2 separate regions of the Homo sapiens genome follow, and region 2 is linked to region 1. The links are contacts of gene promoters, found by promoter capture Hi-C in human tissues and cell types (Jung and others, 2019). All regions are on one chromosome and are shown on one strand. Each heading gives the region's core, a stretch centred on a gene start or on the middle of the fragment in contact. The rest is flanking DNA. Distances are from core to core; before and after follow the strand shown. Region 1 holds the start of PTK2 (protein tyrosine kinase 2). Region 2 overlaps DENND3 (DENN domain containing 3).

The links. The method cuts DNA at HindIII sites, captures the fragments that hold promoters and counts their contacts. A contact is called where the count stands out against the background at its distance.
Region 2: a contact is called between a fragment that was not itself captured here and the fragment with the promoter of PTK2 in region 1, in 1 of the 25 tissues and cell types used here (heart right ventricle).

What each region holds. Positions count from the first base shown.
Region 1 is chr8:140,999,607-141,002,605 of GRCh38, reverse strand. PTK2 (protein tyrosine kinase 2) reads left to right here and starts at 1,324. Exons shown (of 36, transcript NM_001352702.2): 1 at 1,324-1,481. RefSeq lists silencers at 890-1,309, 1,330-1,659. The HindIII fragment of the contact is 8,254 bases long and covers 1-2,999 here.
Region 2 is chr8:141,157,163-141,160,294 of GRCh38, reverse strand. The region is part of intron 8 of DENND3 (DENN domain containing 3); the gene reads right to left. Among named protein-coding and RNA genes, the nearest start is that of DENND3-AS1, 29 kb to the right of the region's middle. RefSeq lists enhancers at 1,610-1,729, 2,520-3,132. The HindIII fragment of the contact is 8,395 bases long and covers 1-3,132 here.

The sequences.
Region 1 (2,999 bases), core at 75-2,574:
ACCCAGAAAAACACCAACCTTAATACATCTCATTAAAGAACAATACAACCCAAACATTTAAATATGGTAAAATCTTGATAAGCAAAAGCTTTTTATTTTACTTCATTTTTACTTTTATAAAAGCTCCTAATGCAATGACGTGTGTCACCTCTCTGGGCTTCAGGGTGTTCACCTTTCAAAAGGCCTCGGTGCCTGTCTGTCCTGCTTCCTGGCTTGTGGTTAGCATCAAAATGACACCATAAAAATGAAAGTTGCAGCCTTGAGGGTTCTTCTGGTTTCATTTCCGACCACAAGGTTGCCAGAGTGACTTTTTTTTTTTTTTAAATAACACAAATCAGTTATCACTTCCTGCTTAAAGCCCTCCAAAGGTTCCCTGTTGCCTAAAGAATAAACTCCAGGCACCTAAGCAAGCCCCACGCAGCCGTCTGCATTTTTCAATCCCTCCAACCTCGCCTTTTGCTATTTCCCCCACCCCACCTACGGCACGTTCCGGTCATAACCAACTAGCTCCTCGCTGAAACTGGCTCACACCGCGGAAGCCCGGGTCGGTGTCGGGGCGAGCCTTCCCTCCTTTTCCTGGAGCCCGTCTCAGGTCTGTAGCCCTCGGGAGGGATTGCAGGGCTCGTTCCCTGCTGGCGTTCATTTAGGTAACCTGTCTACCTCCAGTGGACTTCTAAGTCCCTTTCATGATTTTTCATCTTCCAAAATCAAATAATGGCCCAGCCCAACTTAGCTATAATGCCATGAAAAGAATCTCTGAGCCTCAGTTTCCTTGTCTGCAAAAAGGGCCCAGGAACCGCTCGTTAGGGTCGGTGTGGTGCCTGGAGAGTGCACTGCAAGGCCCGGGGCCCGCAGCGGGTGCCCGACAGCGGGCGTCCAACTCTGGGGGCGGGGCCGCAGGGCCGCTCAGGAGGGAGGTTCTCCAGAGGGGACCCCTTCGGGATTTGGGGGCAGGGAAGGAGATGGGGAGGACTTTCCCGAAGTCCGTCTAATCCCGCTGGCGGAGAGCGAGGCAGGTGGGACCCCAGGATGTCCGCTCGGCGGGGCGACCCCGGCCACCCCCGAGACCAGGGCTTTCCTCGTCCGGCCGCCACGCCCGCGCGCAGCCTCGGGCCACCCCGAAACCCCGGCGCGGTCACTACAGGACAAATTACGCGAGCAGAGCCTAGCGGCGCGCTGGGCATGCGCGGGGGCGGCGCGCATGCCCAGTCCCCCCGAGAGGCGGGAACTCCGGACTGAGACCGGGTCGGGCGTGCGCTGCCGAGAGAGGACGCGCGCCTCAGCCGGCTGCCGCGCACGCGCGCGGGCCCGCGCCGACGCAGCACGGCCTCGAGGGCGCGAGCCCGCGCCGCCGCCGCCGCCGCCGGTCCCGGACCACTGTGAGCCCGCGGCGTGAGGCGTGGGAGGAAGCGCGGCTGCTGTCGCCCAGCGCCGCCCCGTCGTCGTCTGCCTTCGCTTCACGGCGCCGAGCCGCGGTCCGAGTGAGTGCGGGGCGCCGGGCGCGGGGCGCGGGTCGGGGGCTGGGCGGGCTCCTTCTGTGCAGCGGTCGTGGGCTGGGCCGCGGCCCTGAGGGCGGAGGGGCAGAGCGGGGCCGCCCAACCAGTCCCGGGGCGGATGCGGCGGAGACCGGCCCCTCCCGCGCCCCCGGCCCGGGTTCTGGGAGGAGGGGAGGCCGGTGGCCGTGAGGAGGTTGGGGGCCCTCGCGGAGGCCGAGAGGCTTAAGGAGGTCAGGGGGCGCGCTGGGAGGCGGGGGTTCGGGGCGCTGGGTGGTCGGGAGGCTTGGGGAAGACTGGGAGGCTGAGGGACGTGGGGAGGCCGGGAGCTCGAGGAGGTCGGGGGTTTTGGGGGCGCGCGGGGAGGCCAAGGGGTTCGGGGAAGACAGAAAGGCTGGGGGACGTGGGGAGTCCGGGAGACGTGAGGAGGAAGGGGGGGGCGGCTTTCGAAAAGGCCGGGCGCGCGGAGAGGCCGAGGGGCCTGAGGAAGACGAGGAGGCCGGGGCTCTGGGGGCGCGCAGGGCGGACAGAGGCGCGGGGAGGACGGGCCGGCCTCCGCCGGAGCGGACCCAATGCCTGAAAAACAAAAGGGGAGAGGCAGGAGGAGGAAGAGGGAAATCGCAGGGACGTCGGCAGGGTTCGCCCGGACGCGAGAGGGAGGCTCGCGACGGCCCGACCTCCGTCCCCCGGGCGCGGCCTCGCGGGCAGCCAAGGGTGGGCTCCGAGCGGCCTGCCGGTGCCCGAGCCCCAAGCCCGCCGTGTCCCCGAACGCAAACCCTCAAGTTTGGTAGAGCCCCGTGGGCTTCTTGGCGGGAGCCCTGGAGCCCTCACTGAAGTCCTCACTGGAGTCATTGTGCTTCCCAAGTTTTCTCCTCTTCCCCGCCCCCAGCCCCCGACTCTGCCGCGGTGGCTTAGGCGCAACTGTTTGCCGAATTTCTCTCTGGGTTCCTTGTGTAGCGGCATCCTGTTCTTTCTTAGAAGAAGGGGTGTGTGTGTGTGTGTGTGTGTGTGTGTGTGTGTGTGTGAATTGGTTTCATTTAATTGCAGAATTTTGTAGCTAAATTCAGTGAGGGTAAAGTTTCTTTTTTTTTTTTTTTCCGAGTCATTTCAACAGTGTCTCATTCTTGCATAGTTAGCCTGCAGCTGGGTTTTTGGCAATGAGACTAAGATAATAGTAATATTGTAGTAATTATGGGAACTGGTTATACATTCAAGCTGAAAGCTGAAGGCAGTGCAAGAGTTTGGGGATTTGTATTTAAGACTTAACCATCGCTAGGATTTTTACTTAGAATGTAAACGTTTTCATGGCTGGAAAAACAGACCAGTACTATTTGAAATGAAATACCAGAGCCTCAACCTTAATATTTTATTTGGGAAACGGGTAATGAAAATGATGTCTTCGAGAGTTGAGCACTCCGTCCCATATTTGAAAACTTATGAGCAGTGCGATGCAAGCACACGGATGAACTAGTTACAAGACACATAAAAGTAAACTAGCATTCAACG
Region 2 (3,132 bases), core at 318-2,817, 160 kb before region 1:
AGCCAGGAGAATCGCTTGAACCTGGGAGGTGGAGGTTGTAGTGAGCCGAGATAGTGCCGCTGCACTCTAGCCTAGGCAACAGGAGCGAAACTCTGTCTTAAAAAAAAAAAAAAAAAAATACATCGCTGGAAGACTGGAAGAGTGGATTCACCTCCACACATGGACTCACATGGGCCTCGACTTGGACTATGCACACTTCACCCAGGCCAGCTCATTCCTGTCCTGCCACTGCAGTGAGGGCACTCCCCCTTCTAGGTCACCAAAGGCTTCCAGGTCAGGCTGCCTCTTGACGGGTCACTCATGGCTGCCTAGAAGGGACAGTCACAGCTCCCCCATGGCTTCCCCTCTGTACTTCCTGCCCAGGCAGGATCAGATGCCCCTCTGTGCCCTGCAACAAACGTCCCGGGTGTCACCACTCTTGGCCCACCAGGAGATGGCCAAAGGCTCACCCCAGAGGGCCTCACTCAGGGACAGGAACTCACAGATATCTGTCAACCCTGAGCCACCATGAGATTGGACCCCTGGCCTTCCCAACACCACTAAAGGCTGCATGTCTAGAGGGACGTTAGAAATATACAAAATAAACAGAACCAACGCATATCTGGTCACACATATTTCTTGAGCACCTACTGTATGCCATACACTGATCTGTGTGCTAGGGATGGGTGGTGGACACAGGCCAAGCCCCTGCCTGCGTGGCACTTCCATGTGAGTGGGAGGAAGTAGGAAAAGAGACAAATCAAGAAAACAGGAGATAATGAGGACATCAGGCAGAAACGCACATCACAGCGATGGGCTAGAGAGACACGGCAGTCAGACTGAGCGGGCAGAGAAGAGTTCTCCCAGGAGACGACCTGGAACCGGAGATGTGACAGGAAGACACAGACGGGGGACTTGATGGACCCAGTGCGGCCCAGCATGGTAGGGGGAGTGGGAGTGTGGGCCAGGTCAGCATGGCCGGCAGGAGCCAATCTTCTCTGTGATGGGAAGGGTGCACTGGCCACAGGCCCCTGCCGCTGCCTGACCCTCCTGGAGGCAGGGACAGGAAAAGGGAAGAACGGGATTCTGGGTGGAGTGGCCCACCAGGGGATGGTAGCAGGCAGGCACGCGGTGCCAGGGCCAGGACCAGGGTTCTCTCCAAACGTGCTGAGCAGCAGCTGCTGAGGGGCCAGCCCAGCCCTGGCTGACCAGACTCACAGGACTTGGGCAACTACCCTTGCCTAGATGGGTCTCAAGAACTGTGATGTTTACCAGCACCAAACTGGCCTTTCATCTGAAAGAACACGCAGAATGCCAGGGAAAGAAATTTTGATGACTTTCCTCATGTAAAAAGGGCTATGATGCCACCTGGAGTGGCAGCTTCTCTTACTGCATCTTCTGGTGCAGGGACAGTGGGGTCTGAAGGAGATGGCCATCCCCTCTCCCGGAACCCCATGCCTCCCTCACCCAAGCACGCAGCCAGCATAGCCCTGAGCTGGCGACCCTACCCCTGCTGCCCAGGGAGAGAGCGACTTCCATCAGAGATGAAGACAGCAGTGAAGAGAGTGACCAAGAGCCAAGGGTGCTGGGGAAAGCTGGGCAAGGAGGGGGCTGCCCCGTCCCTCCCAGCCACACGCTCACGTGCAGAGAGATGCATATTGTACTCCAGAGCCCCTTGAGCAGGCACCCCAACGACACCGCAGCCCACAACCTGTATCATGAGCTCAGAGGCCTCTTATAGACAGGTCACCCATGGCACAGGGATTAGCTTGTGTTTACAAAAGAGTCTCCAAAAATGAGGCTGTGGGAGACACGACATCCTGCATCCCCATTCTGGGGGATCTAGCCAAAGCGGGGCCCAGCCTCCGTATCGTGTGTGTTTCTATTCCGGAATTCTAACAAGAAGATGAGGATGCAGGCAGAATCCTACCTTCCTGGGAATGCTCAGAGCTTCAACACAGTCTCACAAAGCTCAGTTCTATTACAGAATGTCACGCTCTAAAAGTCAAGGAAGCAGCTGTGGCTTACCAGAAAGTAACTGAGATGATTGGGAAAGCACGTGTCTCCTTCAAAGTTCGCGCAGAGGACAGTTGCCAACAGAACAGCTGCTCAGGTGCCCTTGGCTGGGGAGGAGAGCCCAGCGATTCCACAGCCCAAGCAAGCAGAAACCAGCCTTGCCTGTGCAGGACCATCGCTTGGCTTTAAGGCCTTAGGGAATTTTTTAAGATGCAAGAACAATAATAAAGGTAGTTCTCCGACTGGGCGCGGTGGCTCACGCCTGTAATCTGAGCACTCTGGGAGGCCCAGGCAGGTGGATCACCTGAGGTCAGGAGTTCGAGACCAGCCTGGCCAACATGGTGAAACCCTGTCTCTACTGAAAACACAAAAATTAGTCGGGCATGGTCACAGATGCCTGTAATCCCGGCTACTCCGGAGGCTGAGGCAGGAGAATCGCTTGAACCTGGAAGGCGGAGGTTGCAGTGAGCCAAGATCACGCCACTGCACCCCAGCCTGGGTGACAGAGCAAGACCCTGTCTCCAAAAAAAAAAAAAAAAAGAGGTAGTTTTCCTAAACATTTTTCAGAAACCTTCCAGGTAGAAGGAATAATCCACACCAAGGTAAGAGTCAGAAATCAGAAAAGCCAGGTGAAAGGCCAGGCCAGAAACCGCCCTCCTCCTTCCCACTCCTCCCAATGCAGACAAAGGAAGGCGAAGAGAAGAAAGGTGATGGCTGACTGAAATCCAGACTGCATCACAGGCTTCACCAGAAGCAAGTACAGCCCGGCTGTTTGCAAAAAGCCTAAGCGCTCCCCTCCCTCCAGCGTCACCTCCACGACCGCACTCAGGGCCTGGCTGCAGTTGGACCCACAGGTTGTGAGGACTCAAGAGCAGGATCTCTCCTCCTGCTATCATTTTATAAAATGCTGAAGGGAAAAATGAGCTCCGCAGAGCAACCCCGAGGGAGCCCTGGCACTGAAGCTGAGTCACTGCTTGGGGCACACCCAACACCTCCGTCCTGACGTAATTAGCAATTACACCTCCTCTCACCCTCCCCTGACCAAAGTCCCTGCCAAGCCTTTGCACCTCGACAGAGACCTCAGAGCCCCAAAGCATGAAATATTATTTGACACTTGTTGGAAAAAGTTTGCTGACG